Linked DNA regions of Homo sapiens: all the other regions are linked to region 6. The links are contacts of gene promoters, found by promoter capture Hi-C in blood cells and fetal thymus (Javierre and others, 2016). All regions are on one chromosome and are shown on one strand. Each heading gives the region's core, a stretch centred on a gene start or on the middle of the fragment in contact. The rest is flanking DNA. Distances are from core to core; before and after follow the strand shown.

Region 1 (4,455 bases), core at 1,717-4,216, 840 kb after region 6:
AACACTTTGTTTTCTCTAGCTTTATTGTAAGAATACAGTGTTTAATACATATACAAAATATGTGTTTATAGACTATGTTACTGGTAGGACTTCTGGTACACAGTAGATTATTAATAGTTAAGTTTTGGGAGAGTAAAAAGTCGTATGTCAATTTTCAACTGTGCAAAGGGTCAGCACTACTAACCCCCATATTGTTCAATGGCCAAGTGTATTTAGTTTGATCTTGAGTCAAAAAAAAAATGTTTAAGCCTTTCCTTCTTAAGTCCTTGATGAGAAAAACCTTTAATTTTCAAGTCTATCTTAAAGAAGATAATGGAAGCCACAGACCTCCTAAGAAAAATGCAAATTCACAAAAAAAATTGCATAGAACTTTACGTAAGGTTTAGGACAACATGAAGCCGATACGCCTGCCTGTTGCAAGCTGGATTCTCTGAAAATGGACACTGAAGTAGTTTTGGGTATATGATGTTTATTAGCAGTCAATCCCTGTGAAAGAAATTCGGGGAGAGGCCGGGCGCAGTGGCTCACGCCTGTAATCCCAGCACTTTGGGAGGCCGAGGCGGGTGGATCACCTGAGGTCAGGAGTTCGAGACCAGCCTGGCCAACATGGTGAAACCTCATCTCTACTAAAAATACAAAAATTAGCCAGGGGTGGTAGCACCCACCTGTAATCCCAGCTACTCAGGGGACCAAGGCAGGAGAATTGCTTGAACTTGGGAGGCAGAGGTTGCAGTGAGCCAAGATCATGCCATCACACTCCAGCCTGGGGAACAAGAGCAAGACTTCATCTCAAAGAAAAAAAAAAAGAAGAAGAAGAGATTTGGGGAAGAAAGCCGAATTGGGCAGAGGGAAAAATCAAATTGCAATTCAGGCCCAACAAAGCCTCAAGCAACCTGGCAGATCTCTGGTGGTATATCACCTGTCAGAGTTGTCTCAGGCCTGAACAAAATGGCTGGGCCTTTAAACATGTCTTGCTTGATTGCAGGATAAGTGCTGCCCTGGAAAGGATGTGACCTTAAGCAAGGAGGCTCTCCGCAACTGAGGTAGAGCCTGAAGGAGCTGACAGCTTAAGGCAATTTTTTTTTTTTTTCTGGCTGTCCTCTGTAGGCCAGACAGCTGAAGGTTTTCTGATGACTGACCTCCCCACAACTGGGCCACAATTCTTCCTTGAAGGAGGATCAGGGCTGCACATCTCCATATCCACCACACTCAAACTTCACAACTCCTGTTTCAACCATTTTTAAATCCTCTCATCTCTTATTATTCACCCTTTCTCTTCTTTTCTACTTCTTCTAATTACACCAGTGTGCTTAAGGCAAAAGCCCAAGCATCTGCAGCAGAGAGGATCTGCAGTATAAGGACCTTGTGAGAGGTATACTATAGACCATGGGCTGACTGAAGTTGAACAGGGGTAGAAGGAGCCCCCACTCAGAGCAACAGGAAGCCCTACAGACTGAACTTTCTTTGTAAATTGCTGGCCAAAGCTATAAATCAGATAAGTTCATGTGAACAACTGAGAAATTAACAGCAAATTTCTGTAAACAGACTTGCCACCAAACCAGTTAAACACATATGTCTTATAATTTATCCATCACAATAAGGAGCAATACAATATCACTATTTGGAGGTTATAAAATTAAGCATTTATAATACTATCCTTTAATTTATAATCAGAGGTAGAAAATGAAGCATATTGGCTGTGGTGGCTCATGCCTGTAATCCCAGAACTTTGGGAGGCTGAGGCAGGAGGATTGCTTGCATCCAGGAGTTTGAGACCAGCCTGGGCAACATAGTGAGACCCCATCTCTACAAAAAGTCAAAAGTTAACCCGGCATGGTAGTGCGCGCCTGTAGTCCCAAACACTCAGGAAGCTGAGGTGGGAGGACTGCCTGAGCCCAGGAGGTTGACATGCAGGGAGCCATGATTATGCCACTGCACTCAGCCTAGATGACAGAGTGAGACCCTGTCTCAAAAAAAAAAAGAGAGCAAGAACATATCTGTAATGTTTTCATCACACAGTATTTAAATAAATTAAATCTACATTTTCAAAGAAATAGATGAGAATAAACAGAAATGAGGAGTAAAAAAATTTCTCACATCCCTTACAAGGAAAATTAATTTTATATATAACATTAAGTAATGCAAAATATATTAGCAACACTTCCCTTTTATGCAAATAACTACACATATTTTGACTCAGTCACATTAAAGACAGTAAACAAATCATCTACACATCATAACATAAGTATATTCAGAATAATTAAGGTTTCCCTACATGTTAAATCCCTGCAATTAATTTACTATCAATGGGGTTTGCAGTACAGTTGGTTTCTACTCAGAAAAAAACTAAGTATTTATTTGCTTGACATATCAATGGAAAGTTCAAGCTAATATGAAAATATGAAGCAGCTTTGTCATATCAAATAATTACATTTTTGTAAGTACTATTAAAGAAAAAAGATATACTTAAAAACTGCCTTAAAATATACCTGAATATATACTATGCAGCCATAAAAAATGATGAGTTCATGTCCTTTATAGGGACATGGATGAAATTGGAAATCATCATTCTCAGTAAACTATCACAAGGACAAAAAACCAAACACCGCATGTTCTCACTCATAGATGGGAATTGAACAATGAGAACACATGGACACAGGAAGGGGAACATCACACTCTGGGGACTGTTGTGGGGTGGGGGGAGGGGGGAGGGATAGTCATTAGGAGATATACTAATGCTAAATGATGAGTTAATGGGTGCAGCACACCAGCATGGCACATGTATACATGTGTAACTAACCCGCACATTGTGCACATGTACCCTAAAACTTAAAGTATAATAATAATAAGAAAAAACAACAACAACAACAAAAATATATATATACCTGAATATAAATGTAAAGTAGACATACTTTTAATCCCTAAGCATAAAAATGTAAATAAGTTAAATGCTTAATCAACAAGGTTAGAGCAAAAATTCCAACATTAGAACTGACAATTATTGCCAAATATTAATCAAGGTCTGTCCTATCTCCAAGTTTCAGCTGAATAACTGTCAATTTGGGGGTATCAAAAACCCCCACAACTTGATACTAAGGTGAATATATGTTATACTAAGAAAAATTCTCAATACAGAAGCCTCTGTTTATAAGTAGGTTAAGTTTTATTTGTTCTTTAATCTAAAGTGACCATCCCTATATATATTCCTGCCAAATAGAAGACTACATTACCGCTATATGCATTCTATTAAGACATTTTTCTCCAAAATATTCCAGTTTTGTCTACACTAAAAATTGGTTGTGAGAAATAATTCCTCTCTTCTTAATGATCTATGTACAAATGCCGTAAAAAACTTTTTAGCAGCTATGGAATCCAAATTGCTGCCTTGCCACTTACTTGGACATTATCTGGATTTAAAGGGCCTTAAGCCTACAGAACTATCTGGCTATGAAAAGTCTGATCAGCAGGACCTATAATGTTTTAGCCTTTAAATTCTCAAACTCTTAGTCTTTTAATAAAAGATCAATAGACATCTAATATTGATGCCCAGACTCTACTGTAAATTCAAAAGCATTTCTACCAATGTCTCCTACTGTACTTACGTTCAATTGCTAAGGCCAGCAGTTCTCAAAGCATAGTCTAAGGACTACAAGGGTCCCACAAAATCTTTTCAGGGAACCAACAAGGTTAAAACTATTTGCTTTGCTGGGTGCAGTGGCTCACACCTGTAATCCTAGCTCTTTGGGAGGCCGAGGTGGAACAATGGCTTGAGACCAGGAGTTCTGGATCAGTTCAATATATTACAACAGATGGCAGGCAGAAGCAGATGAAAATCCAGCTGTCTTCTACTAAGTCAGACATTAAAGAGATTTGCAAAAAGCAATACCATTCTTTTAACTATTTTTTTCTGGTTTAGAAAATATCATTATTTTCCAGAAAAATGTGTTTATGCTAGCAAATACTGGGTTTATTACAGTTATCTTTAAATGTATTGAATATTTTCAACCGTTTCCATTTTAATTTCTAATATTGTAATTATCAATAGATATAACCCACTAAGCAATAGCACTTTGGGGCATAGGCACATTACTTTTCACATGTTTAATCACTTGCTTTATTCTTCAAAATAACTCCTATTGTTGAACAAACCAATTCTTCACCATTTAGTTTATTTAAAACTTTCTCTGCTTTTAATTACCATCGGACTAATATCTCTCCCTATTAACATGTCACATTCTTATCACTTTTATTTATTTATTTATTTTTTTGAAATGAAGTCTGGCTGTGTTGCCCAGGCTGGAGTGGAGTGGCATGACCTTGGCTCACTGCAATTTCCACCTCCTGGGTTCAAGCGATTCTCCTGCCTCAGCCTCCCGAGTAGCTGGGACTACTGGCACGTGCCACCACGCCCAGCTAATTTTTTGTATTTTTAGTAGACACAGGGTTTCCCCATGT
Region 2 (4,292 bases), core at 1,342-3,841, 800 kb after region 6:
AAAAAGTTTTATTTAACCTCATTGCTCTTTTCTGTGACTTTTTTACTTGAGTTCTGAAGCACTCTTAATATATAAAAATGAGCCATTTGAGCCAGGTAAAATGGTTCGCACCTGTAATCCTCGCACTTTGGGAGGCCAACACAGGAGAATCACTTGAGGCCAAAAGTTCAAGACCAATCTGAGCAACACACAGAGACCCTGTCTCTACAACAAATAAATTAGCCAGGTATGGTAGGGTGTGCCTGTAGTCCTAGGAGATGGAGGTGGAGATGGAGGAAGGAGGACCCTGTGAGCGCAGCAGTTCAAGGCTGGAGTGAGCTATGATCACACCACTACATTCCAGTCTAGGCAACAGAGCAAGAGATTCTGTCTCAAAAAAATTAATAAATAATGAACAAATAAAATTATTTGAGTATTTTTTTGGTATGTGTTTTTTCTAGCCCACTTGTGGCCTCTTCAAAAACAGAAACAGGCCAGGCACGGTGGCTCATGCCTGTAATCCCAGCACTTTGGGAAGCCGAGGCGGGTGGATCACAAGGTCAAGAGATCAAGACCATCCTGGCCAACATGGTGAAACCCCATCTCTACTAAAAATACAAAAATTAGCTGGGCTTTGTGGCATACACCTATAGTCCCAGCTACTTGGGAGGCTGAGGCAAAAGAATCACTTGAACCCGGGAGGCAGAGGTTGCAGTGAGCAGAGATCGCGCCACTGCACTCCAGCCTGGCAACAGAGTGAGACTCCGTCTTGAAACAAACAAACAAACAAAAAAACCAGAAACAGCATAAAAATATTTGTTTTACTATAATCTTCTTTTTCCATTCTCATTCTCAATGTACTGCCAAATCAGAGATGGGCATTCCTTTGGTCCCATATTTTGTTAATATTGTACTGCAGGGCATCTATGTCCAGCAACAATAATAGCCATCTTTTAGGCACATATCCAAGGAAGTCATTTTCTTCCATTTCTTTTTTTTTTTTTTTTTCCTAGAGACAGGGTCTCACTATGTTGTCCAGGCTGGTCTCAAACTACTGGACTCAAGCGATTCTCCTAACTTAGCCTCTCAAAATGCTGGGATTACAGGCATGAGTCACAATGCCAACGTTTTTCCATTTCTTTCAAGTCAAAACTCACATTAAGTGCTTCTACAAATTTTTTAAAAACTGACAAAGTAACCAAAAGTGTTCATTAAGAAAGCATCAATTATCAAACTTAAGCAAGTTATACCCCTTTTTAGCAGTGTTATATACATGCTGTGCAGGATATTGAGCAGATAAGAACTTTTCACTTTCATTAGGAAGAAGTTCAGACCAAATGAAATTTACCAAAATTTACATTTGTGCTGTGTATCAAATAAATCTAGAATTGTGTTTGGACAAGATATCAACCATACTTGTTTTTGTTGCCTATGGTTTCATTAAAATCTTCAAAAACATGATTTGACATATCAAAATACCTAAGAGCTTTGGGGACATTTTCTTGTTGACATAATTTGCCATATCACTTGATACATGAAAGTATGATTACTAGTAAGATCTGACAGAATAAGTTACCCAAAGCTTCAAATTCCTTTTATTACCTTGCTAAAGACAGGAACAAATAAACCACTACTAGAATACGTTGTTAGAATGAATGTGAAATATTGTAAAAAAAAAAGTGCAAAAGAATAAAAGTAGGCAATGACTGTTTTATTATGAGACTAATATCAGGGAGAAAGCTGAGGGAGAACTTAATTATATAATTAATAAACTTTTAGAAGGCAGAAACTGATGAAGATCCCCAAGAAAGGAGACAATTTATTAGTGAACAGCTAATAGCCTCCCGGTATTAGTTCATTTTCACACTACTGTAAAGAACTGCCTGAGACTGGGTAATTTATAAAGAAAAAAGTTTTAGTTGACTCACAGTTCAGCATGTCTGGAAAGGCCTCTGAAAACTTATAATCATGGCAGAAGGCAAAGGAGAAGAAAGGCATCTTCTTTACAAGGCAGCAAGAATGGGAAATGCCGAGCAAAGGGGTAAGAGCCCCTTATAAAGCCATCAGATCTTGTGAGAACTCACTCACTATCAGGAGAATAGCATGAAGGAAACTGCACCCATGACTCAATTACCTCCACCTGGTCTCTTCCTTGGCATGTGGGGATTATACAGATTACAATTCAAGATTAGATTTGGGTGGGGACACAAAGCCTAACCATATCACCCCCAGTTCTAGCAGGAGAAAAGACTGAAAACTGCAAAATGCAAAACGTGCCTTGATAAATTAAGGCTTAAGTAAATCATCCTTTTTTTCTCTCTTTTTTTTTTTTGAGATGGAGTCTCACTCTGTTGCCCAGGCTGGAGTGCAGTGGCATGATCTCAGCTCACTGCAACCTATACCGCCCAGGTTCAACCGATTCTCTGGCCTCAGCCTCCCAAGTAGCTGGGATTAGAGACATATGCCACCACACCTGGCTAATTTTTGTATTTTTTTAGGAGAGACGGGGTTTCACCATGTTGGCCAGGCTGATCTGGATCTCCTGACCTCAAGTGATCCGTCCACCTCGGCTTCCCAAAGTGCTGGGATTACAGGCGTGAGCCACCGTGCCTGGCCGTAAATCATCCTTTTTCTATTACTCTGGAAGTTCATAAAGTGACCACCAGGATGTTTTACCAAAAACAATACAAATCAATTGACCAATACAAAGACTCAGGCCACTTCATATTAATGACCGCCTTAAAGATTCATTTTTACAAAATATTTGAAAACTATGATTAAATCTGAGCTTGGAAGTATGTGGAATAATCATACTATATGTCTCAATCAACTAAGAGTTACTTGAAAAGAAATCATTCTGGATTTTATTTGTCAATTTTCCACTTCCCCAGTTCTTGAAGTTAATCAGAATTCAAGGGGAAAGCATTAATCAATAAAAAAGAAAAAGAAATCTAGTGTAGGCAGAACTGACACATGATTGCAATGAGCAGAATTTTGAGTTAACTTCAAACTGCAGAGGTAAGAACCAGAGGTATGTAAAACTTGTTCATATCTTTCAAAGCTGGAAGATTAAACAGATCACTAACTCTCTCAATCAAGATTAGGTTAAGCTGGTAACTCAAAGAGTATATGCCTAATGGGTTTATTCAATTACTCATTGGAAGATATGGGAATAGAGACAGATATATAGATTTATAAAAGATATACACCGGTATAGATATATAGATGCATATACATATCTACCAACATATATGTCTATACATAGATATTTAGGTATGAATATATGAATGTACATTTATGTATATAGATATCTATATATAATACAGAGCAATTTCTACTATCTTGTGGCAGAAACGTCCTTCGTAAGGGGGACATGCAGGAAATGAAGAAGCCATAAAGTTTAATTACGTTAAAAACTTTGAAAGTTACATTAAGAACTAAGGCACAGTAAAAGACACTGTAAGAGTTAATGTACACATAACAAAAAATAAATACTTTCAACTTATAAAATAAAAAGGAATACTATCTATAAAATATGAAGTTTCTACAAATCTGTAACATGAAAAATTATAAAATGATAGTGAAAGGAAACAATTTAAGAAGAAACACAAATGAACAATAAACATTAAAAGTTCAAGCTTACCAATAACCAAAGAAATACCAATTAAAATAACTTTTGATTAGATGTGCAATGACTACTAAAATCCCAATTCAAATGAACAAAACTATTCTACAGCAACACAATATAAAAGGAAACAATTATGCAAAATAGACATGGGTCTAGAATCATTTTGAATCCTTTTAACTTTTAAAATAATTAACCAACCTGAGCCACTTTAATTGAATTCTGGGTAGAGCCACCAGCATGATATTCGACTTTGAATTTTTTCACAAGTTCATCAAACCTATAAGGAAATCACAGTAGAAAAAAGTAAGTTACCTTCTGTGAGTTGCAACAAAGTAAACTTTTCTGAGCAGAAGAGTATTAAAACACAAATAGTAAAATGTTTTTATTGTTTAAGTATGTTGAATAAATGAATTGAAATATCTTATAACAAAAATACTAAATTTCCACATTTAAGAAATGTTTTCCATAAGTGTACAACTATAAGAATTTAAGAATTTAAAACAGACTGTCCATAATTGGCCATTAAACTAAACAGAAAGTAAAAGTAATAATTAATAGATTGCCAAATGGAGGTCACGTGGCAAACTGGTTAAGTCAAAATCAGAATCCCAGTCTCAGAATCACTTGTTACTACAAACATACAGAAATCAGCATGTATTTCTCCTCATTCCAGACAACTAACAGA
Region 3 (4,795 bases), core at 2,198-4,697, 700 kb after region 6:
TGGAAAAGATGAAATAAAATATTTTTGGTGGACTATTCTACATTTGATATTTTATTTGATTTTTACTATTTCTGTAATACAAAATAACCTTAAATAATCTTGTTACTTATAGAATGAAGACAGAAACAAATACTTTGAAAGATGAATACAAAAAATGATTAGTTAGGACAGCAGAGCTGAAAAGAGTTGAGAGACTGGACAGAAATTAGATGTTTGCAGTGACGGTGTGATAAGGGAAAATGGGAAAGTTATAGAGAAAAGCATCCATGGACTTACCACAATTGACAAAAAAAAAACAGAAACAAAAACAAAAACAAAAACCAACCTTGTGCCAGAAATCCGTATAGAGAACAAGATAAATAAATTTTTAAAAAGCAGCAATATATCTTTCAGAACGTCTTCAACTATTTAGGATTTACTAATATCCCTAACTAGTAAACCAGGACAATGTTAGTTAATATGAATGTGCTCTAGAAGTCTGGGGCTTCAAGAAGCTATTTCCAAGGTGAAGAAAGAAAACACATGATAGATTTAAGAGGTTAGAGTCAAAAGATCCCTATTATATAGATGAGAAACCAATATTGGTCTGAAAATGGGTAACAGGAAATATGGGTTCATACAAGAACTTGCCTTCCTGCTAAGTACCAGAAAGGAAAAACGTTGTCCTCTCATTTTTTCATACCAATTTACCAAATTTTTTTTTAAGCTTCACGTACCATGTCATCCACCTAAATCAGAAAAAAACTGGTATTTCAAAAAACTGACCCTCATGACCCTCAAACACGGTAGCATTACATATATGTGTGTGTGTGTGTGTGTGTGTGTGTGTGTGTATATATGTATGTGTGTGTATATATAAATGTATGTATATATATATTTATATATATGAGCAAAAGCTTAAAAGACTCTTTATAACACTTGCAATAGAGAAATAGGTAAGAGCAAGAGATCAAAGCAGACTTATTATGTCTTCCATTACATGCCAACAATAAAGACATAAATACATTATTTGTGTAATCAGGAACAATTGCATCATTTGTAGTCATAATAACTAGATACCACTGAAACTATTATGAGAGATGTGGATATAAGATTAAATCCAGGGGGTATGGAGCATTACTACTGATGGGTATAACATTTCCTTCTGTGGTGATGTGAATGTTCTAACATTAGATTACAGTGATGGTAGCAGAACTCTGTAAATACACTAACAGCCACTGAATGATATTTTTTAAGTGGGTGAACTCAATGGTTCATAAATACCTCAATAAAAGCTGATAAGAAAGATTAAATTCAACTTTATCTGAAAAGATAGCAACAACAGAACATGTGGGGTAAATCATATTAAACTATAAAGATTCTATAATATCTTCAGTAAATATATTGGAAGACAGATACCATTCTGTAGACACTTGATTGTTTATGTCCAGTTTACATACAATTTCAAAGATATGACAACTAGCACTTAAAAATGTACACTGCCATCTGAATGTTTATAAGTTTTTCCTCTCTTAAACATGTTTATTAAAGAGATTTAGTAAACATTTCATTTTCTCAAGCAACTGCTGATTGGTCTAAAATACATAAAGTAAACAGAAGTGAAAATATTTCAGTAGATGATTTGTTAATTCATTTGGGGCTCTGCATAAGTGCCTACTGTCTTAACAACTAAATGCTATACATATGCTTATTTTCTTACCATTCTGAGGCAATTAGCACATAGTGTGGTTTCCAATCTCACATAAAATTCCCAGACTTTGTTACAGTGCCACAAGTCCACAACACAAAATCTTCCAATCTTTATCTTTAGGGCTCCTAAGCTCCCATAACCAATACTATCCCAATTCTTCTTAGTAAAAAGGTTAGTCCGTGTAATGAAAAATAACATTACTTAATATTCCCAAAGATTTCTTCTCTGTCTTGGTAGAGAGTTTTACTTTTGGTAGCTGCCAAAAATAAGAGTTAAGAAAAATTACAGGAATAAAAGAGTACATTCTCCAATTTGGAGAAAGTCTTTCTGTATAAAAATCACAGTGTTACTCAAAAAAAACTGGTATTAGAATTTTATTTATTGAAGAAAACAAATTCTAGAGAAATTAAAAATAAACACAAATAGGATCTCTGTAATCACACTTTTCTTTCTTTTCTTTTTTTTTGAGATGGAGTCTCACTCTGTCACCTAGGCAGGAGTGCAACCTCTGCCTCCCAGGTTCAAGCCATTCTCCTGCCTCAGCTTCTCAAGTGCTGGGATTACAGGCATGCGCCACCACGCCCGGCTAATTTTTGTATTTTTAGTAGAGAGGGGGTTTCACCATGTTGGCCAGGCTGGTCTCCAACTCCTGACCTCAAGTGATCTGCCCACCTCGGCCTCCCAAAATGCTGGGATTACAGGCGTGAGCCACCACGTCCAGCCTATAATCACACTCTTGTTTGAAAATTTATCCAGCAAAAATCAAAGATTCTCCCTACTAAGGTGGAAGTAACAACAGTAAATAATTTGTGTAACTCACTGAACATCAATAACATATGGAAAATGAAAAACATTAGAAACTGAACTCTAACACTAATGGTAAGAAATAGCATAATTAAGTCTGTTTTGGTATAAGCATACCTTATTTTATTGCACTTCACAGATACCTTTTTATTATTTTTTTTTACAAATCGAAGGTTTATGGCAAGCCTGCCTTGAGTATGGTGTCATTATTTTCCAACAGAATGTGCTCGCTTGGATCTCTGTCATATTTTGGTAATTCTTTCAATATTTCAAACTTTTATATCTTTTATAGTGATCACTGATCTATGATATTATTATTGTAATTGTTTTGGGATGCCACAAACCACACCCATAGAAGATGGTGAACTTAACTGATAAATGCTGTGTTTTCACTGCTCTACCAGCTGGCCATTACCCCATCTCTCTACCTCTCCTAAGGCCTCCCTATTTCTTGAGACACAACAATAGTGACATTAGGCCAATTAATAATCCTACAGTGGTCTCTAAGTGTTCAAGTGAAAGGAGGAGTTGCATGTCTCTCACTTTAAGTCAAAAGCTAGAAATGATTGAGTTTAGTGAGGAAGGCATATCGAAAGGTGAGACAGGCTGAAAGTTTGACCTCTCACAACAAACAGGCAAGTTCTCAATGCAAAGAAAAAGTTCTTGAAGAAAATTAAAAGTGCTACTCCAGTGAACGCATGAATAAGAGAGTGAAATAAGCTTATTGCTGACATGGAGAAAGTTTTACTGGTCTGTATAGAACATCAAACCAGCATAGCATTCTCTTAGGTCAAAGCTTAATCCCGAGCACAACCTTAACTCTTTTCAATTCTGTTAAAGCTGAGAGGTGAGGATGCTGTGCAAGAAAAGTCTGAAGCTAAGAGAGGCTAATTTGTGAGGTTGAAAGAAAGAAGCAATCTCCATATCATAAAAGTGCAAGGTAAAATAGCAGGTGCTGAAGAGTTACCCAGATCTTGCCAACATCATTGATGAAGGTGGCTGCACTGAACAACAGGTTTTCAACATAGACAAAAGAGTCTTCTACTGGCAGAAGATGCTATTGAAGACTTTTACAGCTAAAAAGAAGTAAATGCTTGGCTTCGAAGCTTCAAAGGATAGGACGACTCTTTTTTTTTTAGGGGCTAATGCAGCTGGTGACTTTCAGTTGAAGTCAATGCTCATTTACCATTCTAAAAATCCTAGAGCCCTTAAGAGTTATGTTAAATCTGCTCTGCCTGTGTTCTATAAATGAAATAACAAAGCCTGGATGAACACATACCTGTTTGAGTATGGTATGCTGAATTTTTTTTTTTTTGGGGACAGTTTCACTCTTGTCACCCAGGCTGGAGTGCAATGGCGCAATCTTGGCTCACCGCAACCTCCGCCTCCAGGGTTCAAGCAATTCTCCTGCTTCAGCCTCCTGAGTAGCTGGGATTACAGGTGTGCACCACCATGCCCAGCTCATTTTTGTATTATTAGTAGAGATGTGGTTTCACCATGTCGACCAGGCTGGTCTCGAATTCCTGACCTCAGGTGATCCTCCCGCCTTGGCCTCCTAAAGTGCTGGGATTACAGGCATAAGCCACTGTGCCCAGCTGGTATACTGAATATTTTAAGCCCACTGTTGAGATCTACTGCTCAGAAAAAAAGATTCCCTTTAAAATATTACTGCTCATTAACAATGCATCTGGTAACCCAAGGGCTCTGATGGAGACGTATAAGAAGATGAATGTTGTTTTCACGGCTGCTAAAACAACATTCATTCTGCAGCCCATGGATCAATGAGTAATTTTGACTTTCAAATCTTATTTAAGTAATATATTTCATAAGGCTATAGCTGCCATAGTGACTCATCTGATGGGTTTGGGCAGAGTAAATTGAAAACCTCCTGAAAATAATTCATCATTCCAGTTGTCATTAAGAACATTCATGGGCTGGGCATGGTGGCTCACACCTGCAATCCCAGCGCTTTGGGAGGCCGCAGTGGGAGGATCACTTAAGCCCAGCAGTTCGAGACCAGCCTGGCCAATATGGTGAGACCTCGTCTCTACAAAAATAAAATAAATGATGAGGTGGGAGGATTGCTTGAGCTTGCCTGGGAGATTGAGACTGCAATGTGCAGTGATTGTTACTGCACTTCCCTGCCTGAGTGACAGGAGTAAAACCCTGTTTAAAAAAAAAAGAACATTCACGATTCATGTGAGGTGGTCAAAATATTAACATTAATAGGAGTTTGGAATAAGTGGATTCCAACCCTCATGGATGACTTTGAGGGCTTCAAGACTTCAGTGGAAGAAGTCA
Region 4 (4,797 bases), core at 2,086-4,585, 730 kb after region 6:
TGCTGTGTCTGATAGACGTCACTGTGTTTACCTTGAAATTTTGAAATACCCTGAAGACTCTCTGTGGGTTTGCTACAGCACCCCAAGGGGACTTAGTGCACAGATTGGGAAACAAGAATATAATATTAACAAAAACAATGAAAAACAGAAATAAAAGACTATTAGGAGTATACCGACAAAGCAACTATGTGGGAAGGAAGAGACTAATGGGAAAGGTAGATGTAGGCCAGATCAGTAAATACCACTTCAAGAAATTTAGGCAACATCCTGAGGGTAGAAAGCAACACATGAAGGTTTTCGAGCAAAGAGTATGATGATAAGAGATGACAGTTCACTAAGGTAAGGAGCCAGAAGGAAAAAATTTACAACTGAATTTAAATAAGGCCTAAATAAATGGCATATTAAACTTCATAACAAGAGTCTTTAACAACATATGGAAAGATTTCTATTAATATTAACTTTACCTTCAAGGAAGATTTCCTTTTTATTACCTAAATGCAATATTTAGGACAATATAACTGACAATGATGCCCAAGAGGCAGTCACTTCTGAAATAATGCCATATGCTTTAATTCAATTCATAATAGAATGATGAAGAATGACACCTAGGTACTAAAAGAGTTGCAAGATAAGCCAAAGATATGAAATTTTATACAGAAAACTCAATGAGGCATCTCAGAAAAACTGTAAAGCACAACTAAAAGAAATTAAATGTCAAAACTGAGAAACAGCAACAAGCAGACTGCAAAGGATGATGAGGAAATCAAAACTGAAATAGATTGATAAGGAAAATAGCATATATCACATAACTTATAGGATAGATTCTCAGATGATTACAATACCACCAAGTGAGACAGGGCAAAACACAAGATTTTCATAAATATTAAGAATCTATTCTAACTGAATAACTAGTATGTTATGCTTCTTTCCTTAAAAAACTGCTCCATTGCCCCTGCCAGCAAGCATCCTATTAATAAAAATCAATTTCTAATAATCCTGTTCTTTCCCTGAAATAGTTCTATTGTTATTTTTGTTAGTAAATATCTGTTAACATTCTCAGAACAGATTCGGGGAATATTAGGCCTAGTAGAAAAAATAAACTTTAGACTCAGATATATAAGTTCATCCAGCCATGTGATGGTAAACAAGCTACTATTTCAGAGACTATGTTTCTTGTGGAATTATTGTGATGATTGAATAGGATAATGTAAGCAAAGTGTTCAAGGCAGTGCCTATTACAGAGTACAGCTGACGATGACAACAGTGCCCTGAGACTGTGATAAAATGCAGAATTTTTAGTGTATATTCATTCAATTCATTCCACCAATATTTGTTGATCACCTATTATTTGTTGGACATTATTGTAATTAATAATGGATAAAGAAGTCTTCTCTATCTCTTTTGTAGGCTTCTTTCCTTCTCCCCATTCCTTAGCATTTCTCAGGCCTGGATTCCCAGGTTACCTACAATTCTTACCGTATATACTTTCTCTGGATATGATCTAATCTACTCTCATGGTTTCAATTATCATCTATATGCTGAGACCCCCTCATTTTTAGCTTATACTTGTTTTCAAATGACTGCTCTGAATATCCAAATACCTACTCAACCCTATTTTGCCTATTAAATTGACACACTTTTACTCCTGCCTCTATTAACACCACTTTAGTACAGGCCACCATCTACTCTCAATTAGACTACTATAAAAGTCTCTTTTAAAAAAATTTATTGAGATATATTCATATAACCATACAATTTGCCACTTTAAAATATACAATTCAGTTGTTTCCTGTTTATTCACATAGCTGTGCAACCATCACATTTTCATTATCTCAAAAAGAAACCTCTACCCATTGGATGTCATTTCCCATTCTCTCTGTCACTCCATCCTCCCAACCATGCAACCATTTGCAAAAGCTTCTTAGATCATCTCCCTGCCTTTAGTTCTGTTTTTCTCCAATCCACTGCATTTTGAGTGCTCTTCCTAAAATGTCCTTCAATCGTTACCCAAGTATCTTAAGCAAGTTCAACATAAACAACTTTATGATTGAACCATTAACTTCCTCTCCAAGTTAATCCTAAGCATTAACACTCTTGAATGCAATGTTCCAGTACACTGAATACTTCATTCTGTTTCTGTTTGTTCTTTCTAGCTTCCTACTTAGGTTTCAGGTTTCACTTACTGAGACAATGTTGTCCTAAATTCTGTTCTATATACCCATTGTTATTTATTTTTTATTTTTTTGAGACGGAGTCTTGCTCTGTCACCCAGGCTGGAGAGCAGTGGTGCGATCTTGACTCACCGCAAACCTCTGCCTTCCAGGTTCGAGCAATTCTCCTACCCCAGCCTCCTGAGTAGCTGGGATTACAGGTGCACGCCACCATGCCCAGCTAATATTTGCATTTTTAATAGAGGTGGGGTTCCACCATGTTGGCCAGGCTGGTCTTGAACTCCTGACCTCAAGTGATCCATCCACCTCGGCCTCCCAAAGTGCTGGGATTACAGGTGTGAGCAACCGTGCCCAGCCTATATGCCTGCATTTTATGTTGCCGCAACAAACTGTATCATTCCTATCATAGAATTAATTCCACTTAATTGTAATTTGCTGTTCAAGACTGTTTTCTTGGCTTTTTTAAAAGAGTTGTAGGGTGTGTTTCCAAATCTAGAAGAGTGCCTGCTACATTCTATGCAATTAAATAATTGTCAAATAAGTGAACAGGAAAGCCAGGATTGTATCTTCTTAAAACTTACAATTTAAGGGTACATAAAGCTTACATACAAGATATGTTACTATTTATTTTAAGAGATGATATATATATAATAGGAGTTGTTGCAGAACATGCAAGTAGCACCTTAGTCTTTGCAGAGTGGCCAAAGAAGATTTCCTAAGATAAATATGAGAAACTGTGTCCAAGCTGACACTTAACTATGATGGAGATCAGGACACACTACCCCCAAAATATGGCACTTGACATACTGAAAATTTTAAGCTGAAGGAATTTGAGAACAGCAGGTGCAGGAAGGACTTTCTGATTTCCTCTGAAGCAAATCATAAGACCATCCATGTGAGAGGATGTTTACTATATGCAGAAAAAAAGAACATCCTTATCTCAGAAGATGTAAGGACATGAGATGAATCTAAACAAACAGGTCTTGCTAAGGTCCCCTCAGTTTACTACTCTTAGTTCATACCCCTTTTTGTCCTATTGCCTTTCCCTTCCACTCTTCATAAAACCTAATGTAAAAACACCAGGTTTAATTGTTTCTTCAAGTCTTCATTTCCCTCTATGTTACATAAAACTTAGAATATAAATTAGTGTACTTAACTTTTGTTAATCTGTCTTTTGTTACAAGAATCTTACAGCAGAGAACTTAGAAGGAAAATATTTTTCCTCCCTCACAACTACAAATAGGAATTAGGGGATATATGAGGCTTACGTGGGATAGCTAATTTTCAGAAGAAGATGAATGGCAGAGAGGCCGAGAAAGAGAGAGAGAGAGAGAGACAGAGACAGAGACAGAGACAGACAGACTGACTACTGGAATCAGAAAACTAAAAGTTCAGTATTCCAAAAAGTCTTAGAATCAAAATGCTTATAATCTCTTACTCAAATCTGTATTCTAAAGATATAGTATTTCCTAAAGTACAGAATAAAAGTATGCTGCATATACTCTATCTAGAGGTATCATTAACAATATAACCAGTAATACAGGTTAAAGGTTCAGCATAGAATCTGGCATAAGGTTGGCAGAAAGTAAATTTTAATTATTATTATTATTATTACTGTTGTAATTATTGTAGCAGTATCACTAATACTATTGTTATTGTTACTTCTAAGTCAAATTGTTATATATCTAGAATACTAAGAAGGAGTATGAATCTTATTTTCTAAGCTTTGTTAGTCTGCTTGAAGTCCAGGGGCCCCTATCATTGCAGGGTATGTGTGAGAGGAGGGGGGGAAAATCCAATAAACATCCTGAAATTGTAAGGAAACTTTGCTGTGTTTTTCAAGAGAGGATTCACAGATTTCATTAGGTGACTAACACGGTCTAGGCCACCTACACCAAGGGGAAGTGAGGGAAGAGTGTAGGCAGAACCCAGATATAGCCAGTGAGGAAGCCTTTTTCTTTTCAAGAAAAAGAGCAAAAAGGTTACAGAACTGAGTCAAATTCATCAAATTAAACAAGAAACTCATTTAATCCAAAGCTATTTACCAAAATTTTAAAATACTGTATCTTATAATTTTAAAAAAATTGTGTTACTGAAACTTTCACTCAATTTCTTAAGATTAACAAAAATGGATTACAAAATAGCATGGATTTATCTCCAAAGGTCTCCAAAACTAGGGATAAAAAAATAACACAGCACCTGGTATGGTGTTACAATAGGTGTCAAGTTTTAATTCAATGTGACTTTCATCAGAACAAAAGAATAGGCTGTATATAAAATAAGAAAGAAAAACCACCAAGGAAGTTTATTGTGGTAAATTAAAACCAGGACAAAACGGTGAGAAAGGGCCAGGTGCGGTGGCTCACACCTGCAATCCCAGCATTTTGGGAGGCTGAGGCCGGCAGATGGCTTGAGCTCAGAAGTTCGAGACCAGCCTAGGCAATGTGGTAAAACCCCATCTCTAGAAAAAATACAAAAATTAGCCAGGCATGGTGGTGTGCACCTGTAGTTCTAGCTACTCAGGAGGCTGAGGTGAGAGGATCGCCTGAGCCTGGGAGGTAGAGGCTGCAGTGAGCCAAGATTACATCACTTGCACTCCAGCCTGAGTGACAGAGTGAGACCATGT
Region 5 (4,465 bases), core at 1,891-4,390, 820 kb after region 6:
GATTTCAGGATATATTTCACAAGTGGTGCCAGTATAATTTCCTTAAGGATTAGATGTGGGATATAAGAGAAAGAGGAAAAACAAGAATGAGTCTCAGGTTTTTATCCTGAATAACGAGAAGGATAAAACTGCCATCAAGTGAAATAGAGAGGGCTGCAGGTGGAACAGGTTTTAGAGGAAAGATTAGGAGTTCAGTGTTGGGACACATTAGGATATCAAAAATACAAGCAGATTCATTAAATAGATGCTGAAAGAACAAGTCCCCTAACTTCTCAAACATGATTAACTCTCCAATCCTCCAATATTGCTATGACTAAGGACACAGAGTGCTATACTACAGGGCACACTCTACTTCACTGCAAAGAAATGATTCCTTGACATACAAAAAGGATAGAGATTTGACAAAAGGTGTCATCTTCCCATCACAGAAACAGGCCTATACACCGACTACCACATGCAGGGAAAAACAAAATGGGCTCTTCTAACACAGAACCAAAAGACCTAAATTCCCCTCCAGTATATTCCATATGATCTTTGTAATGCAAAAAAATGAGTAAAGGACTGGTATTCTTGGTATAGTAGACAATACTGAGCTCCCAAAAGTTTCACAACAGAGGTAAGTAGGTAGGTAGGCAGGTAGGTAAGTAGAGAGGGAGAGAGATGTTAAATAAATACATTTGAGAAAAAGAAAAAAACAATCCCACGGGCTCATGATTCTAGTGATGCAGTCATTCTGTGTCCCAGGGAGACCTGACAAATTTACCTCAAAAATGACATCTTGGATTTAAAATCTGAACTCTAGGACTTTAAAATTTCCTGTTTTACAATATGATACACTTTTTTCTTTGTTCCATGCTACCTCCTTTCATTCCTGCAAGAAAAGTCACGAAGAACAAAATACTGTACAGATGAGAAAACTGAAGCGTGAAATCATTATGATACACATAATACAAAGGTAGCCAAAATTAGAATCAATATCACATCCTTTGCCAACTGTCTACCCCTCATAGAATATCTAGTATGGTAAAGCTATCATACTAAAGTAGATATAAAACAAGATTATAAAAAGTTACCACATGTAATATAAAAATATTTGAAAAAAAATCAATACTTCAATAATCACAATATTCTCCCCAGTTACTGACAATTATCATTAAGATTTGACCACTGCTGTACATCCTGCATATAAAATAATTTCATATGGTTTATGCTTGCTTTCCACTTACCTATAACTCATAACAATCTATATAATGTTTTGGTAGAAAATGCTTTCTTTTTGTTATATGTGACATTAGGGTTTTGTTGTTATTGTTGTTGTTGTTGTTGTTGTTTTTGAGACGGAGTCTCACTCTGTCACCCAGGCTGGAGTGCAATGGTGCGGTCTCAGCTCACTGCAAGCTCCACCTCCTGGGTTCACGCCATTCTCCTGCCTCAGCCTCCCGAGTAGCTGGGACTACAGGTGCCTGCCACCACACCCGGCTAATTTTTTGTATTTTTTATTAGAGACAGGGTTTCACCGTGTTAGCCAGGATGGTCTTGATTTCCTGACCTCGTGATCCGCCCACCTCAGCCTCCCAAAGTGCTGGATTACAGGCGTGAGCCACCGCACCCAGCCTCTTTTGTTTATTTTTATGAGCTAAAGATAATAATGAGCCAAAAACTCCTATATTCTTTAGTACGTATTTTACATATGGGCAATAAAATATATTACAAAACATTTTCCATTTTAAATTATTTGGCAAAAAATCTCCCATAGCACTTATTATTATTATTTGCTACAGACTCTTCCTAAAAGCAAGAAGCAGCCCATTTTCTCCAGATGACTCATAAACTAAAGGCACAGTAGAATGAAGTGCTCCAACTTAAAATACCAATGGCTAAATATAACCTCTTCCACAAGATTAGAAAATTCAGTGTCTCTCTTTATTCTATAAGAGCCATCTTAAAGGGTCACCTTTAAAAAACATAATTAGCAAGCATGGGGAAGGGACAGGAAAAATTAAATTTAAACATTTAAAAAGTAACACAATTAGTTCCTAGGGTGATAAGCAAGAAGAAAAACCTAAAACAACATAAACTTTTTTTCTTTAAGCACTCAGCAAAAAAGGAGAAAACTTCACAAAAAATTAGGGTTTTTTTTTTCTCATTCTTTAGGTAAAACACTTGTCTCTTTCATAAAAGCATTTAACATCTTACTAGATGAATACTGGTCACAAATAACAAAAGTTATCAATGGTTTGTAGAGTAATTGGAAGACTTCTTCAGTCATTAAACAAATGAGAATCCAGTTCCAGTTGTTTCATTTGAGATTACCCTTTAGAGAAAGACTAGGGAAATACTTAGTAAATATTTTTAAAATATCACGGATACTTATTTTGCATACAAAATTAAAATATAAAAACATCTGAAATTACTAATCAGAAGTACTGATAGTTTTTCCAAATGAGCAATAAGAAAAACTAACCCAAGATAATTATAAACACAGTAAGTCAGAGTGAAAAACAGGAAGAGTATAAAGAAGCAGGCTGACAAAGTGAAGCTAACTCTCAGAGACAAAGAACGAACCGAAGGAAAAAAACTGACAGCTTTTGAGACCTTAGATTTAGCCATTCCTAAGGCCCAATTGAACCCCTATGTGAGTGTGTGTGAGTGTGTGTGTGTGTGTGTGTGTGCGCGTGAGTAGTTTAGTGACTTGAGTCCCTAAATTCCTTTTTTTAACCTAGCATAGCACTAGTTTGGTTTCCCATCACTTGTAACAAAGAATCCTAATTTACTATAAAAATATTATCTTGAGAAAGAGTAAACTAATTGTGTATATGGCTAAGAAAAGGTATGGATTTTCAGGTGTACTACAATATACATTCCATCCTCCCTCCTTTTTCTACAAAGGAGAATTTTCTTTCCTTTTTTTTTTTTTGGCCCACTAAAAAAGAAAAACTCATCAAAATTGGATTTACTATAGTAGTCAACGTCAGAGCCAACTCTTCAGAAAAGCACACGATTAAGAAAGTAAACTGAGAGAAATTTTCTTAAAGTAGTCAGCTTTTTCAAAAACATAGTGCCACTTTTAAGAGAAAAATTAGTTGGAAGGGAATACAAAATGATAAGAGGAGTATTATATTCATGGTGAAATTACTGATCATCTCTATATTTTTCATTTTGGTTTTATGTAATTTCCAATTTTTCAACAAAAACATAACACTCCAAATCAGAAAGAAACATGCTACTTTTTAAATAAGGGTACATTTTTTTTAAGTGTTTTAGCTTTCTTCATGGTCCCAGGCTATCTTTGCTTAAGCCAAATATTCACATAGTTTTGAGAGGTGAAATGTTTATTTAGCCCAATTCAGCAGAGTACCTACTGCGTTTAAAGCAGAGTACCATATCAAAAATGTAGTTCCTTCAGCCAGGTACGGTGGCTCATGCCTGTAATCCCAGCACTTTCAGAGGCGGGCTGATCACTTGAGCCCAGGAGTTCAAGACCAGCCTGGGCAACAAAGTGAGACCTTGTCTCTACAAAAAACAATATTAAAATAAACAAATAAATAAATTGTAGTTCCTAGAAGAAGCTATAGACAGACTTCAGTGAATTTATTTGTTGATATAGTTTTTAAAAATTTCTTTCTGGTGGGATGTTTGAATTGCAATAAAGTTTAACCAGGCATTATGCTTCATTATGGCCCAATTCAACAATATTGAGAATAAACTCTGAAGTGTGTGAGCTGCTTCATTCTGTTATTTTTATTTCCTATCTACTGACAATTTTCAAAGTAGCCACTCATTCTCCAAATCAGCTGCAATACAGTTTTATAAAATATTACTTACTTTTCATATACTCTCCAAAAATAATTTCGGCAAAATACCTTCCATGAATATTAAGAAAGCAAAGTGAAATAATGAACTTACCCATTTTAGATCCTATTTTCTACTGTAATAAACAGTTATCAAAGTTCCATTCCAGAGGTACATAAAGAGATACCTCTAATATAGCTCAACTTCACTGAAATATTTTAAAAGTTTATAAATTTTGGCCAGAAAAACGTAATAAGACTTTTTACTCTGTAATGAAGTTTTAAAAGTTTATGTTCACTTTTCTTTTTGAGATGGAGTCTCGCTCTTGTCACCCAGGCTGGAGTGCAGTGGTGTGATCTCGGCTCACTACAATCTCCACCTCCCGGGTTCAAGCTATTCTCCTGCCTCAGCCTCCAGAGTAGCTGGGATTATAGGTGCCCGCCACCACGCCTGGCTAATTTTTGTATTTTTGGTAGAGATGGGGTTTCGCTATGTTGGCCAGGCTGGTCTCGAACTCCTGATCTCAGCTGATCCGCCTGCCTCAGCCTCCCGAAGTGCTGGGATTACAGGCATGAGCCACTGCGCTCAGCCTATGTTCACTTTTCTTTAACATCAACACAGATTTACATGATCTCTACTAAAAGTATCATTTAAGATTCCAATAGGCAACTAC
Region 6 (4,866 bases), core at 2,196-4,695:
AGGCTCTCCCCTGTCATCTCTGCAAATAAGTAAAACATTTAATCTAATCTGGGAATGAAATAGTATAGTCCTCCTCTATAACCTAAATCCCTTAAAAGAATTTTGATTAGCTCATACTGTATTTTTTCACCAAATACCACAATCATTCAAAAGAGCTTCATAGGTAATTTAGCAGAATATGCAATTGTATTCATATCTCGTATAAATCAGTTTGATGTCCAAAGAGAATCAAAGCTACAGAAGCTTTAAAATTAAAAAGTGAATTCAATCTTAGTTCATTAACAATCCACTGGCATATGAAAAATGAAGGGGGTAGAATCTGAAGACAGGAAAGATTTCCATCCATAAATTAACGGGCATGCTAGGTACACCCAACAATTAACACCATATATTACATCAGGCCTGGAAGTAAAAATCTTGAAAGAATAGCTTGTTAACATGGCATTCTTATAAAACAATAATAATACTATTCATGGAAACATCTGTGATTTAAGTTTCTCAAAAAAAGTGTTCAAATTTCAATTCTTAGAAAAGCCATGAAAATGTCTTAATCAGTAACAGCAAAGTTTTGAAGAAGTATTGAGGATCTAATGATTAACAAAATAAAAAAATGTTTATAAGCAACTGTGCAATGTGAATAAGCTTTTGCAGAAGGGGGGTTATGGTACTGAAATCAAAACTGATTTACCTAAATATGTCTGCATATTCTGCCATCGCAGTCATGATGGCTTCTTCTGCCTTAGAGAAACCGATTTTTTTTTTTTTTTTGAGACATATCACTCTGTTGCCCAGGCTGGAGTGCAGTGGTGTGATCTCAGCTCACAACCTCTGCTTCCCGGGTTCAAGAGATTCTCCTGCCTCAGCCTCCTGAGTAGCTGGGATTACAGGTGTGAGCCACCACACCTGATTAATTCTTTTTATAGTATTAGTAGAGATGGGGTTTTGCCATGTTGGCCAAGCTGGTCTTGAACTCCTGACCTCAAGTGATCTGCCTGCTTCGGCCTCCTAAAGTGGTGGGATTACAGGAGTAAGCCACCACACCTAGCCAAAAACTGATTTTCTTTATTCAATGGGTGTGAGAACTGACAAAGGGAAACAAAAATTAAAAAACTATTAGACATGCTAATATGTTAATTGTACAACTCCATCTAACAGTTTCTCTTTAATTTTGCAATAACATTAAGCTGTAATCTTAATAGAGTTCTTATATTGCAGTTCAGCAAATTTTTACATGCCATGACTTTTATTCACAACTAAGTATGAAGATAAGGTCTCCAGAGGATCTCACTCTAAAGATAAAACCAACAAACAGTAATATTACATAAACTTCAACTGAAGATAATTTGTATTAAGTTAAAGAAAAGGGAATTAATACTTTAACAATCTCAGCATTTTTAGCTAAGAATTCACATATCCTTTGAAGAAACAATTACTATTCCACTGTGCATCTGAGGGTATGTCACATAGCCCATACACATAAACTAATTTAAAAGCTGTTGCAAATCAAATTATCATCTCATGAAGATTAAACAGTAGATATCCATTTAGATTTAATCAAGCATTTAGAAAACGCTTGATGCTAACAAAAATTAGCCAGCCATGGTGGCGCCCACCTGCAGTCCCAGCTACTCCCAGCTACTTGGGAGGCTGAGGTGGGAGGATCACTTAAGCCTGGGCAACACAGCGAATCTCTGTCTCAAAAAAAAAAAAGAAAGGAAAGAAAAGAAAAGAAGGAAGAGAAAAGAAATGGCCAACAACTTTACAAACCTATAATCACATAAAAAGTTGTAAAACATATGAGACATGTGGCTAAAGTCAAAGACTTCATGGAACCATGTTATGACTTAACAATCACAAAAGGAAGTCAATTTATCTCTACTAAAGTGAATATAAATATTGCAATCATTCTTTTTCTGGCATAATTATGTTTTGGAACTATGTCTTCTATAAAAAGCATCTGTATACCCACCTGTCCCAGTTGTGTTGGCTGCCAACTACAAGCATCCTCTGTCCTTATTTTTCCAAATCACTCTACTAAAAATACTATTCACACAATACCTGCAAAATAGTATTTCAATATTGGTTTTGCCAATCAGTCAAAGGTACCTCTCCAATTTTCAAGAGATAAGTCCAATCCTGGGGTTATCAGTGAGAGGAAGATTTGGTATTGCGCCTAGACTGTGGCAAGTTCACTGTGCCCCCTTCACCCAGAAACTTGCATTGACCATACATTTACTATGTGGCAAATACATGTGTCAACTTAAAACTTTGAAAGTGGAACCAGTCCATGTTGAGTATCTGTAAAATCCAAGTGTCCAAATTCTTGTTTCAAGTTTAATTTTTAAAATCTGAGTATCCAAAGTCTTGTTTCAAGTTTTTAAAACTTAAAGGTAATATAGTAAATTTTTAGGATCTTAACATGTCTGGTATTTAAACTTAGCTACGAAAAAATTACAATGAAAAAAAGGACACCATTACTGTCAATAAATCCAAATGATATCTTCATTTTCAGAATCACGTCTTCCACTACCTTCTTCAAACATCACTTCCTCTCCACTACTTCCCCCAGTCCTTTAGGCAAATCAGTGATTCACACCGCCCCTTCCACCCAAGATTCTTAAAATGATCCACTGTGCACGAACGAGAAAGCCCCACGATCCAAGTACATTGCCCTAGTGATCTTTGATGTTTTAAAAGGCACCTGTAAAAATGCCAAAGCCCAAAATTAGATCCCCAAGGGCTCCTTTTCTTTCTTGACCACACTTCTCTTTTTCAGTGCCTCCCTCACCCCTTGAGGCCAGACGATTTCCCATCCAACAGCCCTCCTCCTTCTAGTCAAACCTAAATCCTGCCCTCCATCACCACCAGCCCCACCCGGGGTGGGAGGCGGATAAGAGGGCTCCGTAAGAGGAGAACCCCATGAGAGGGCTCCAGTCCCAGCCCCGATCGCCCTCCCTCGCCCTGGGAAGGGAACACCGGCCCAGGTCTTGCTCCTCTGACTCCTCATCCCCGCTGCCAAACCCAGAGCATCTCTTCTTCCGGGTCCACATTCCCGCAGGACCTTCGATCTTTTTCCCCCACTGCGCAGCTTTCAAAAGCCCCCAAGCTCTGGGCTCTTCAAGCCTCCCCCTCTCGCTCTCTCCCTCTCGTTCCTCGGCCTCCACTTATCCCTCAGCCTTCAGGCCCTCAGTTCGACAACCTCCATTTGCTTCAGATTCCATTCCAGAGCTGACTATCCCGGTTCCCTCAACCGTCTCCCCGGGGCCCCTCCAGGTCGCGGTCCCTCGGCAGCCCCCGGCTCCATCCCAGACTCCCCACTCACCCTTGGCAGCAGGCGCCCCCCAAGCTCCCCTCTCCTCAGCCTCAGCTCCCGCTCACCTCCGCGGTCCGAGTCGGGCTCCCCGGACCCACCTCCGAGTCGGCGTCCGAGCCGCCGTCGGAGTCCGGGGCCCTCCCCGCCTCGCCGGAGTGAAGCGCCTCAAGCGGCGGGGGCGGAGCCCGGGGCGGGGAGCCGGAGTGGAGGCGGGGGCGGTGGCGACTGCGCGCAGGCATCGTCCCGGCCGCCGTCACCGCCGCGCCGGCAGCTGCTCGGAGCCGAACCGGAACTGCTTCGGGAGGCGGGGCCCTACCGGCCGGGGACGGGGTTCTACCGGCAGGGGGCGGGGCCCACACTGGAAAAGACGCGAGGCTCCAGATGGGCCCGAGAGGAGAACCGAGATGCTGCCGCGGAGGAGCCCGAGGGCGCATGCGTCATGCCGGAGGCCAAAGCGACAGGAGGAAGCGGGGCTAGCGGAGCCGGGGCGGGGCCTGTGGGATCAGTAAATGGGGTTAGGGCCTAGAAGGAGGTAATCCGAATTCCTCTGGAGAGAGCCAGCTCTTCTCCAATAGCCAGCCCCCAATGATCATTGTTATAATTTATTGCCCATTTACTCTTTGACAGTGTCTATGCCAAACGCCATATAAACATCTCATTTAATCCTTGTGCTAAGGCCGGGAGCGGAGGCTCACGTCTGTAATCCCAGCACTTTGGGAGGCTGAGGCGGGATCACCTGAGGTCAGGAGTTCGAGACCAGCCTGGCCAGCATGGGGAAACCTCGTCTGTACTAAAAATACAAAAATTAGCCGGGCGTGGTGGTGCATACCTGTAATCCCAGCTACTCGGGAGGCTGAGGCAGGAGAATCGCTTGAACCCGGGAAATGGAGGTTGCAATGAGCCGAGATCACGCCATGGCACTCCAGCCTGGGCGACAAGAGCAAACTCCATCTCAAAAAAAAAATCCTAGTGCTAATTCTGCAAGGGGGATCCTATAGCACAGAAAAGTAAAGAAACATACTGCCTGACATATTGCAAACTGATATTCCAACCCAAATCTCTCTAACATCAGATCCTGTATTTTCCTCACTCCACCATGCTGCACCACCCTGAGGGAAGGTCTCCTCCCAAGCCAGGTCTAGCATTGGCATAAACCAAGTCCAAACCCAGCTGTAACCTGGACACGAGCCCCTCCTTGGTCTTGCCTCCCCACACAGTGCCGGGCCGACTTCAATGGTTCTGAATGGGATAGACATGAGTGTAGACTGCTTCCATGGGATGCCCTGGTGTGGCCTTTCCCTTCAAACTGGTCTTAAGGCCAAGGGCAGCTGGGAACCTCCCCACTGCAGCTCATACCCTTCCCAGCTCCATTAGGGCCACTGAGAAGTCACATGAGAGAGGGTGAGACATCTCATCTCTCTTGCTGATAACCAGCTCTGGCAGAAGGACAGGTTGACCTTTCTCAGTTTCTATTTTGGGACCCAAAGCCCTTATAGGCAGAGGAATCTCCCTCCCACTGTTTCTGATGACAGTTAGCCCCTTTGGCTCTCAAA

What was found. Contacts are between HindIII fragments. The CHiCAGO score rates a contact against its expected background, and 5 or more counts as called.
Region 1: a contact is called between a fragment that was not itself captured here and the fragment with the promoter of SAMD8 in region 6, in 15 of 17 cell types (naive CD8 T cells, monocytes, total CD4 T cells and 12 more). The highest score is 17.9, in naive CD8 T cells.
Region 2: a fragment that was not itself captured here is called in contact with the fragment with the promoter of SAMD8 in region 6 in 2 of 17 cell types (naive CD8 T cells and total CD4 T cells); the score reaches 8.2 in naive CD8 T cells.
Region 3: a contact is called between a fragment that was not itself captured here and the fragment with the promoter of SAMD8 in region 6, in 1 of 17 cell types (total CD4 T cells). The highest score is 6.9, in total CD4 T cells.
Region 4: a contact is called between a fragment that was not itself captured here and the fragment with the promoter of SAMD8 in region 6, in 1 of 17 cell types (M0 macrophages). The highest score is 5.1, in M0 macrophages.
Region 5: a fragment that was not itself captured here is called in contact with the fragment with the promoter of SAMD8 in region 6 in 6 of 17 cell types (naive CD8 T cells, neutrophils, fetal thymus and 3 more); the score reaches 7.0 in naive CD8 T cells.

Annotation. Positions count from the first base shown.
Region 1 is chr10:74,269,811-74,274,265 of GRCh38, reverse strand. The region is part of intron 3 of ADK (adenosine kinase); the gene reads right to left. Among named protein-coding and RNA genes, the nearest start is that of ADK, 120 kb to the right of the region's middle. The HindIII fragment of the contact is 7,286 bases long and covers 1-4,455 here.
Region 2 is chr10:74,314,259-74,318,550 of GRCh38, reverse strand. ADK (adenosine kinase) reads right to left here. Exons shown (of 11, transcript NM_006721.4): 4 at 3,806-3,884. Among named protein-coding and RNA genes, the nearest start is that of ADK, 170 kb to the right of the region's middle. The HindIII fragment of the contact is 2,056 bases long and covers 1,564-3,619 here.
Region 3 is chr10:74,412,072-74,416,866 of GRCh38, reverse strand. All of the region lies in intron 6 of ADK (adenosine kinase), which reads right to left. Among named protein-coding and RNA genes, the nearest start is that of ADK-AS1, 110 kb to the left of the region's middle. The HindIII fragment of the contact is 310 bases long and covers 3,293-3,602 here.
Region 4 is chr10:74,382,119-74,386,915 of GRCh38, reverse strand. The region is part of intron 4 of ADK (adenosine kinase); the gene reads right to left. Among named protein-coding and RNA genes, the nearest start is that of ADK-AS1, 140 kb to the left of the region's middle. RefSeq lists an enhancer at 2,228-2,307. The HindIII fragment of the contact is 1,124 bases long and covers 2,774-3,897 here.
Region 5 is chr10:74,288,286-74,292,750 of GRCh38, reverse strand. The region is part of intron 3 of ADK (adenosine kinase); the gene reads right to left. Among named protein-coding and RNA genes, the nearest start is that of ADK, 140 kb to the right of the region's middle. The HindIII fragment of the contact is 8,920 bases long and covers 1-4,465 here.
Region 6 is chr10:75,110,235-75,115,100 of GRCh38, reverse strand. It overlaps SAMD8 (sterile alpha motif domain containing 8), which reads right to left and starts at 3,445. Exons shown (of 6, transcript NM_001174156.2): 1 at 3,379-3,445. RefSeq lists enhancers at 2,737-3,685, 3,686-4,635 and a silencer at 3,359-3,698. The HindIII fragment of the contact is 16,308 bases long and covers 645-4,866 here.